Linked DNA regions of Homo sapiens: region 2 is linked to region 1. Evidence: promoter capture Hi-C in human tissues and cell types (Jung and others, 2019). All regions are on one chromosome and are shown on one strand. Each heading gives the region's core, a stretch centred on a gene start or on the middle of the fragment in contact. The rest is flanking DNA. Distances are from core to core; before and after follow the strand shown. Region 1 holds the start of ZNF618 (zinc finger protein 618). Region 2 overlaps C9orf43 (chromosome 9 open reading frame 43).

Evidence for each region. The method cuts DNA at HindIII sites, captures the fragments that hold promoters and counts their contacts. A contact is called where the count stands out against the background at its distance.
Region 2: a fragment that was not itself captured here is called in contact with the fragment with the promoter of ZNF618 in region 1 in 1 of the 25 tissues and cell types used here (aorta).

What each region holds. Positions count from the first base shown.
Region 1 is chr9:113,873,565-113,878,747 of GRCh38, reverse strand. It overlaps ZNF618 (zinc finger protein 618), which reads right to left and starts at 2,439. Exons shown (of 15, transcript NM_001318042.2): 1 at 2,335-2,439. The coding sequence starts at 2,367. RefSeq lists enhancers at 4,015-4,515, 4,516-5,016. The HindIII fragment of the contact is 30,531 bases long and covers 1-5,183 here.
Region 2 is chr9:113,428,691-113,433,873 of GRCh38, reverse strand. C9orf43 (chromosome 9 open reading frame 43) reads right to left here. Exons shown (of 14, transcript NM_001278629.2): 13 at 4,911-4,974; 14 at 4,184-4,702. The coding sequence ends at 4,488. Among named protein-coding and RNA genes, the nearest start is that of C9orf43, 21 kb to the right of the region's middle. The HindIII fragment of the contact is 8,820 bases long and covers 1-5,183 here.

The DNA of each region.
Region 1 (5,183 bases), core at 1,190-3,689:
TTCCTTTCTTGCCCCAGGTGACCCACCATCAATTTCCAATCCAAGGTCCCTCCAAGATCCCGCCCTGCAAGTCCTAACAATATGCTGTTTTTGGACAGAAAAATTGTAACTTTTGGGGGATAGGCTCAAAATCCCCAGCAAGTTCAATTAGATACTAATTTATCACAAAACGCTTCATCTTTGGGTGGGTACTTTATTCTCATCTGTCAAATTTCAATTCGGTCAATATTTATTTGCCTTCTTAAATTTTTTTTTCTTTTTTGTTTCACCTTCATGTGATTCATTTTAAGGCCAAAACCTCCACATGAAATATTGTTTGCATATATGCTTTCATATTCCAAAGGCAAACCTTGGGTTTGGCTTTTGTTTGTATTTTGATTATTTTTCCTTTATTTTGTTGCTGCTAAAACCAGCTGAGTTGGTGTTATATCACATTTCTTCAGCAAAGTAAGTGTTCTACCAAGGAAGATGGATAAGAATCAGAATTTTCATCTCCTTTTTGCCCATCCCTCTTTTATCTTTTTCTTGTTAAGTCAGTAAAATTTGTGCATTTTTTTTTTTTGGTCACAAACCCCCCAAAATGATCAAGGCTAATGGATTTTTCCCCCTTTGAAAGTAATCAGGTTTTTGAAAAATAACAAATATTGATAAACTACCAACCCCACATCACAATCAAAGAGGCCTGAAACCAATCTAAATTTTTTTTAAGTAATAAATTTTTCAAATTGGAAGGGTGAACAAGACAGAAAAGGGAAAATTTTCTTCCTTACCAAGGATTCCTCAATCCTTGTCTTCATCAATTGATTCAGTTGCATGTCATAAAAAATGAGCTTCTGTGAATCCACTGTTAGTTTTTTCATAATAATGTTAATTATGCATATCTTATTTTAATGGCGGTCTCTCCTACAAATCTGTGGGCTACTCAATTTGTATAATGTATGAATTTACATTTTTTCCACTTAATATTGCTCAAAAAAGGTTCCTGACATTTTCTGGATAAAACAACAACAAAAAAGAAATGCCTAGACCTTTCAGGAAACAAAATCAGAAAACAGTCTTAATTATTCCATCAAAACAAAAAAAACACACACACACACAAAACCCAACAAATACAGAAAAAAAGAAAGAAAGGATTTCACTGTAACTTTTCTAGTTTCTGTTTTCTTTAGAATCTTAGGATTTAAATGCAGTAAAATGTAAATGCAAAATTAAAAAAAAAAAACTACAATTTTTGGGTGTGTCCAAAGCCAACATTTTAGGTTCTATTTTCTCTTTTAAATCCTTCGTTCGTGGAAATAGAAAAACTTTAAATATTGCCATATAGAGAAATTAGTCTTTTTTTGCCCGCTGAGCTAAACAAGTTCCAAATTACAATGAAGTACAATTTCTAATTGCTTCATAAAGCCAATTCTCTCAGTTTTCCCTAAACTCAACAATTTCCCTCCTTTCTTTATTCCAATTAGTTTTTTTCTCAAACTAAAATGAGTTGGGTACCCAAACTGACTTTGCTTTTAGGAGGTTTTTTGCTTTCTCCCCTCCAAGAACTAAATTCATTCAAATTCCAGCTTAATTTTCATTTACATATTATCTGGATTTGGCTTCAGAAATAAAAATTGTCTCCATGCTTCTGGAAAGATCAAAGTGAAAATTTTCACCCGAAAAAAGAAAAAAAAAGAATCTCTTACCCCTCCACTGCCTGGTAGTGCAAACTTTTGAAAAAATAAGAAATAAAAAATATTTCTTTTCAATTTTAATTTCTTTTTTATTTACAAAATAGTATCCTCTAGGTGGCGTCGTTTTAATGGGAAAAAACTACCGTTTGAAGAAAAATTAGAAAAAAAAAATTGAGAAAGGAAAATATGGCCTAAAAAAAAAGATTGTTGCAAAAATGGGGGACCTGGGGGGAAAGACCTCCCGGGGGGTCATCGGGGACCCCGAGCGCAGAGAGGGTCAGGGGAAAATTGCAAATTTGGGGGGGAGGGGGCAGAGCTGGAAGGGGTTGCATTTTTGCAAAATGTGAATTGTCCAAACTGAAATGGCTGCTCTGTTCTCTCGCCGCTTTGTTTTCTGGGCTCCGGTCCGAGCCCGGGGCCGGAGGGGGCGCTGGGTGGGGGCCCCAAAAGACCCCCTCGTCACCCCCACCCTCCTCGCACCCCGCAGCGCCCGGGGGGGTGCTCTCCGGACCCCGACCCTCCCGATTGCGCCCACAAAAAGCCCGCAAACGTGCCCAGGCACTTTGCATTTTGCAAATCTTGCAATGAAGTGGCGCAGCGCCCCGGGCCCCGGCCCCCCGGGGTCCCCCGCGCGGTGCATGCCCCCGGCCCCCCGTCGTACCTGCGGAGCCGCCGCGCCGCCCGGCTGGTTCATGGGTCCGTGCGGGAGGAGGCGGCCCCGGCGCGTCCTGCTCCTCCCGGGCCGGGCTGCTGGTGCGCGCACAATGCCGCCGCCGCCGCCGCCGCCGCCGCCGCCGCTCCCTCCTCCGCCCGCCCCGCTCAGGCCGGGGGGGCGGGGGCGCTGGGGGCGCGCGGGGGGGGCGCCGGCCCTCGCCCCCACCCCCGGCCCGCACCGGCCGCGCCGCGGCAGCCGCTGCCGCCGAGCCGCCCCTCGCGGGGCCGCCGCCGCCCCCCGCCGCCCTGCCCGCCCCCGGGCCGGCCTCGCCGTGCGGCCCGCGAGCTCGGGGCCTCGGCCTCGGCCTCCGCGCTGCCGGCCTCCGCGTGGCACACAAAGCCGGCCGGTCCAGGGGCGCGCCCGCCCTCCCGTCCGCCAGCCCCAGTGCCGCGGCACACCCGCCCCCCCAAACTTTCCCGCGCCGCGCCCTGCCCTCCCCGCGCCCCCCGCGCCCGCTCCCCGGCTCCCTTCTGCCCTCCCCCAGTCCCCCAGCCCCTCGGAAATGTCATTTTCACGCTGGAAAAAAAGTTCAGGGAGCCGGCTCTCGGCGGAACGCAAGAGGTTAATGGGAACTCTGTACCCCGCTGTACCCCCCCGCCAAAAAAAAACCAGATTGATTTTTGAAATAAAAGTTTTCAAGAGCTGGCTTGCTGGAAGACTGGAAGGCTTATTGGGAATATTCTATTGCCCTGCCACTCCTCCCAAAAAAACTAATGTAATAAAATAAAAGTTTGAAGGACTGGCCCCATGTCCGACAAGAGTGGTTAAGGGGACTCTAGCCCCCCAGCCAGACTGATTTTTAAAATAAATACTTGAGGAGCCGCTTTTATGTGAAATGCCAGTGAAGCGGCTGTTTCTGCCTATCCTTGCCAAATTAAAATATATATATGTATTTCTAAATAAAAGTTTGAAAAACTGGTCCTACAGTAAGACAAGAGGGGTTAAAGGTTAAGGGATATTAGCGCCCCCCACCCCCATATCCCCCAGTTAGGTTGATTTAGAGAAGGAAAATTTGAGAAACTTGCATGTGAAATAAAACGTGAACCAGGATATTTCTTTCCAACACCCCAAAATAGCCAGTTTTTTTGTTGTTGTTATTGTTGTTTTTTTTTTTTTAACTTGAGCAACTGCCTCCTTGTGACTTGGGAAAGTTTAAAAGGGATTTTTTTTTCTATTCTCTTCCCTATTCTCCTAAAAAATCCGATTTTTTAAAAATTGAAAGTATGAAGGACCTGCCCTATTATAGAGACAAGGAGGGATTACTGGATCCATCCTACATCTCCCACAACTGGTTGATTTTTGGAATAAAAATGTTAAGAATTGCTCTTCTATGAGATGCAAGGTGAACAGAAATCCTTCTTTGCCCCTCCCCAAAAGAAAACTGCAAGGGTACTTTTCAAAAATAAAAGCATTGGAAATTAAGAGTAACCAGGTATCTTCTCTCTGCCCCCACCTTCAAAAATCAAATGTTCTTTTTTGTAATGTTTAAAGAACTGGAGCAATATGAGACAGGAAAGGTTACAGAAATGTTTTCCCTACAATCCTCAAAAAAGTTATTTTTAAAATTTTAGGAAACGGAGGCACTGTGTAGAAGACACCTCCTTTCCCTAATAAGTTAAATTGGGAGTTTAGCCCTATATGGGAGACATGAAATTAAGAAACACAACTCTTGCCCCCCTTAACAAACACTCATAACACAAGACGTTAAAAGGAGTCTTCTGGCCGGGAGTGGTGGCTCACGCAAATAATCCTTTTGGGAGGCCAAGGCGGGTAGATCACGAGGTCAGGAATTGGAGACCAGCCTGGCCAACATAGTGAACCCCTTCTCCACTAAATATACAAAAATTAGCCAGGTGTGGTGGCACACACCAGCCAGTAGTCCCAGGTACTCAGGAGGCTGAGGCAGGAGAATTGCTTGAACCCGGGAGGCGGAGGTTGCAGTGAGCCGAGACCACGCCATTGCACTCCAGCCTGGGTGACAGAGTGGGACTCCGTCTCAAAAAAAAAAAAAAAAGAGGAGTCTTCTAACCACTTCCTCCCAGACCCCTAAAAGTTGGAGATTCCTTAAAAATTGAAATTGAAAGTGGCCATTTTTCTCCCCACCAACCTGGTAAGTATGTCCCTGCCAGAGGTTTGGCAGCCTCTGCCCAGGCTGGTGTGCAGCAGGCACCAAGGTGAGTAGGGGCAGCTTGCAGAGCATGGCAGAGTTGGGTCCTGTGAGCCCTGAGCATATGTGCTGGGCAGGCAGCCCCTAGTCCACCTGCCCCTCATCCACCAGGTGGTTGGGGCCTTGTTACCTGGAAAGATGCTCCCAGATTTGATGTCTGTCTGGCTCGATCCTTGTGTGAAGGTTTCTGGGCACCTGCCTCAAGGCCGGGTCCCCGCCTCTGCCTAGTAGAGCCAAGCCTGATCTTAGGCCTTAGAGTAGAAACTAGATCCAAAATGACATGGGGTCTCAGTCACCACAGCTGAAAGCTGTATGGTACCAAGGAAAAACTCCTGCCCTGGGAGTCGGGAAAACTTGATACGATAATTATTCATTTGAGCACTTACTATGTGCCAGGTGCCTTGTATCTAGTAGGACAGACACACACCATGAAGAGGAGAACTATTTGCAGCAGCTCTTCTCAAATGCAAGTGATCCTTGGAATCAGCAGGAGAGCCTATTCAGATTGCTGAGCCCACCCCAGAGTTTTGAATTCATTTGGTCTAGGTTAGGCACCAAGAGTTTGCATTTCTAATGCGTTTCCAGGTGATGCTGATGTTGCTGGTTTAAGGGCCACCTTCTTCAAACC
Region 2 (5,183 bases), core at 2,684-5,183, 450 kb after region 1:
CACTGCACTCCTGCCTAGGCAACACAGTCTGTCAAAAAAAGAAAAGAAAAGAAGGAAGGAAGGAAAAGAAAAGAAAGAAACCGAGAGATTAAAAGAGAGAGGAAGGAAGGAAGGAAGGGAGGAAAGAAGGAAGGAAGGAAGGAAAGAAAAGAAAAAAAAGAAAAGAAGAAAACAGGGAACTCAGTATAATAAAGTGCTTCTATGAAAAACTCAAAGTGAACATCATACTTAATGGTGAAAGACTGAATGCTTTGCCCTAAGATCAAAAATAAAACAAGGATGTCTACTCTCTTCATTTCTATTCAACATTGTACTAGAGGTTCTAGCCAGGACAATTAAGCAAGAAAAAGAAATTAGAAGCATGAAGATTAAAAGGAAAGAAACAAAAACATCTCTATTTGCAGATGATATAATCTTGTATATAGAAAATCCTAAGAAGAGCTTCCAGATAGCTGAACACATGGAGATTCCTGGAGGGTGGCGTGCCCAGGGAAATCATGGAAGCCCCTTCCCCCATACCTCGACCTACACATTTCTTCATCTGTATCCTTTGTAGTATAATAAACCAGCAAGTGGGCAGGTGCAATCTTAGTTCCTGCTGGATGAAAGGAATGATAAGCCAAAAACAAGTTGGGCTGCATGTCAGAAGGCATCTTTCCCCACTTTGCCTGCAGGAGCATCACATTAGAAAAACACACTTCACTCATGAAGGGGAAGCCTCAGGACCATGTGACCACCCTGAAGTCACCTTGACATGTTAGGGATGAATTTAGAAGAGGACAATGATGGGGTTCAGGACATGCAACCCCAAAATATGGCACCTTGGCATTTGAAAACATGGCAGAACCAGGAAGGTCACTCTCATCATTCCCTCTTCTCCCCAAAACAAGTTTCTCATTTTGAGAGGGACCCTCCCTATACCTAAAGGGAAGGAATATCCTTAGCTCTGAAGACACAAGGGACACAAAGAAGAATCTACACAAACACGCCTTGCTAAGTTCCCCCAGTTTATTACCATTAGATCATACTCTTTTGTCCTCCAATCATATTTCTCCACAACTGTCTACTCTCCATCAAACAGCATAAAAATACCCAGGTTTCCCTGTGTTTTTGTCTTCACCTCCATAGGAAGGCTCCCATGTCATGTAAAACTTATATTAAATAAACGTGTGTGCTTTTCTCTTGCTAATCTGTCCTTTGCTATATATGTCTCTGTCATTAACCTAGCAACATGTGAGAAAAGAAATCTTTCCTCTGTCCCCAACAACACTATCAATAAAGGCGAAACACTCCAAAAAAGAAAAAGAAAATAATAAGAAATCCACTAAAAAACTACCAAAACTAAGTAACAAGGTAAGTAATGTTGCGGGATACACGATCAATATACAAAAATCAGGCAAAGATCATTATTGGCCACTAAGACCAGAGAAGAGACACCCAGACATTAAGGGCCTCCTGATGGAAGAACATAATGCCATCTATGAAATTTTCTTGCAAAAAAAAAAAAATACCATGAAGCAGCTCAAGCCTCTGGATCTAACAGTTTGCAGGAAATAAAGAGAATGAAGAAATGTGTTAAACAACACCATGAGGATACAACTGGAAAAATCAAGAATGTAGGAATCTACAGACCAAACAACCCAGTTTCTTCAGCAAATAAATTGCAAGAAAAGAAAAATGAAAAAGGAGAAAGTGGGACCTATAGATTAAAGAATTTTAGGGGCCAGGTGGCTCCCTCCTGTAATCCCAGCACTTTGGGAGGCCAAGATGGGAGGATTACTGGAGCCCAGGAGTTTGAGACTAGCCTGGGCAACATAGCAAGACACCATCTCTACAAATAATAAAAAAAAAAAAATTAGCCAGGCATGGTGGCGCATGGCTGTGGTCCCAACAATTTGAGGCAGGAGGATCATCTTAGCCCACGAGGTCGAGGCTTCAGTGAGCCGTGATCGTGCCACTGCACCCCAACCTGGGTAACAGAGTGAGACCCTATGTCAAAAAAAAAAAAGAAAGAAAGAAATTTTTGAGTGTATCAACCAAATACAATTTATGGGCCTTATTTGGATTCTAGTTTGAAGGTATCAACTGTGAAAAGAAATTAATAATAGAGGGAAATTTGAATTTGCCTGGATATTTGATATTAAGCAGCTATGATTAATTTTCGTAGTTATTTTTAACACTTTTCTTTTAGAAGTGTATGCTGAAATATTTATGGATAAAAATGACCTTTGCTTCAGATAACCTTGTTCAGGATGGGGGTGTGTGTATATGAAACAAGATTGGTCACAAATTGATAATTCTTAGGTAATGGACACATGGGATCTCATTAACTTTTATATGTTTCCAACTTTCCTGATTATAAAAAACATGGAGCCAGCATCCCTGGGACCCACATTAATCAATTACAGAGGAAGACAGACAGCACACCAGGAAGGAGAGGAAGTCAGACTCTGGTTAAATATGATGATGAATAACCTACCATTGTTTCTGGAGAATGAGGTGAGAGAACAGCAGACTGGAATAATGAAAAGAGCTCTGACCTAGCACTAGGAGACCCAGATTCCAGCTTAGCCCCACTTCCCAGCTCATGAGCTCAGTCAAGACAAATCCCCTCTCTGAGCCTTGCTATCCTTACCTTTAAAATGGGACTGCAAATTAATGATCTCTACATTGTGGGGTTAAATTCTTCCTCCTTAAAATTTGTCCCAAATGATGGCTCTGGACAGTCCTAATGTTTTGCAGGACTCAGGATAAGTGTACAAAAACAGGTCTACTAACCATGTCTGAACATTTAAAAACTATAAATTAAGCTAACAAATTGTTAAATAAAACATGTTCTAACTTGCTACCTTGACCAGTATACCTTCATGATCTAGAAAGCCAGGTTCATTCAAAATCCACAGATTCCTTGAGGTTCCACACTAACATGCAGCACTAGAAGAACCAGCCCTCACTTCTCATCCCCATGATCCCATCCTTACTGGGAAAGGCAACAAATGCTGATACCCCAGTCTATCTGTCCAAGCTCTGGGCACATCCCTCTCCAAATACCCTCCTCTTACCCCCTTGAACCCAGCAGCACACACACTGGTGGGATAGTCCACTCTTGGGAGATGGACCCACAAAAGAGGCCTGCAGAAGCCATGGAAGTAGGCAAGAGGCCACTGGGCAGGGAATTCCAGGGTTCCAAATACCAGGAACAAAGTCTAAAAGGGGAGTCACAGACTCCAGCTAGGTGTACGTCCACTTGGCTCTGCAGATTTCTCTGCCGTGAGGGGCAGCACAGCCAGAACACCAGAGGACTTTCTAAAGCACGGGGCCAAGGGCCTTCCTTGCCCAGATCTAAGATACTGAATACATCAAAGTTTCATTATATTATTCTCTTTCCTTTTACGTAATTTTGAAATTTTTACATTATATCTTTTTAAGGACTAAAACATGAAAAAAAAAAAACCTCCAAAACCAAGTTAGAAGTTCTCTCAGACTCTGAAATTCTGAGCCTTTATGAGCATCACTGAAACTTTCCTGTGCAGACTCAGTTCCTTAGAAACTAGAGCTTTTTGCCGGGTGCGGTGGCTCACACCTGCAATCACGGCACTTTGGGAGGCTGAAGTGGGTGGCTCACCTGAGGTCAGGAGTTCGAGACCAGCCTGACCAACATGGAGAAACCCCCATCTCTACTAAAAATACAAAATTAGCCAGGCATGGTGGCGTATGCCTGTAATCCCAGCTACTCGGGAGGCTGAGGCAGGAGAATCGCTTGAACCCAGGAGGCGGAGGTTGCGGTGAGCCGAGATCATGCCATTGCACTCCAGCCTGGGCAACAAGAACAAAACTCCATCTCAAAAAAAAAAAGAAAGAAACTAGAGCTTTTGGCTGGGCACAGTGGTTCATGCCTGTAATCCCAGCACTTTGGGAGGCTGAGGAGGGAGGACTGCTTGAGCCTAGGAGCTTAAGACCAGCGACACAATGAACATTATTTGATAACAATGTAGATCCCATCTCCAAAAGAAACCATTTCTAGGGAATGAGAGGAAAATCTAGGGAGCATCATGGCAGCTCCCATGAGCCAAATTCAGCCTCCTACAACTGGAAACCTTTCAGAACTTCAGAGATAAGAGTGACCCAGAAAACAGATACCAAGAAACATCTTTCCCTTCCTCCTAGAAACAGAAAATAAGTCTTTTGATTGAAAAGCAGTTGTGTTTAATCACCAAAATTATTCTGACCCTAATGGAAAGGAAATAATCTAAATTTAAAAAGGCTGGGGATTTTTCTCCTACATTTATTTTAGAGGCAAGTAGAGGTGAACAAAGAAAATGGAATCCCTAAGCTCAGAGCTCAGGCCCTGGTAAAGGCTCCAGAGAGCAGAAGCCCCTCTCCTCTTGCCCTTATGTGAAACGTTGCTGCCCTCAGGATACCAGCCATCCCGCTTTGGAACACGGCTGCCCCAGGGGATGCCTTCAGTCTATTCCTCCAGAGGCTTCTCACTCTGCCCCAGAGGACTGGTCCTCCTCATCCTCATCATCAGTGTCCTGAAGAATCCTAAGTAGTTTGAGCTCAGAGTTCCAGCCTGTGCTAGCCATAATTTCTGAAAAGTTAAAGGAGATCTTCTTTTGCCTGGCAGCCTGGGCTTCTGGCACAGCGTCCACTGGAGCACTAATGTCCTTGTTAGTGGGTTCTGTTTCATACAATTCAGGACCTAAAAGAAGATGCAGTCATTAATTGCACCTGTAAACTCCTCTCAACTACAACAAATGGAGGACAGAAAAGGAAAAATGGGGTGTTTTTAGGACTTCTCTGAGATAGAGGAACTGTGCCTTCAGGGAGGTAAACTATCCTGGTCAACACAGGTTCAACTCTCCCTATCCTCAGTCACTTACTAAGGTTCCTCTACTCTAGTAACTTACTTTTTACACTGTGGTGGAAATCCGCATGGTCATAGTAGTTCATCTTTGGTCTCTCCGTGGAATCCTGAAATTCATTGGGGTATAAGGAAATTTGAATCAAGACTTTAGGAAACTAAAAGGATTTTTCTAAAAGATGCTTCTCTTGGAGAAATTAACATCTAAGATGAGCCAGAGACCCACCTCTTGGGACTGAAGAGAAGCTTTTACCACACGTTCTTTGCCCTCCATGCTGTCCAAATGAACCTAGAACCACTCCTTCCCATTCCCTGCAGT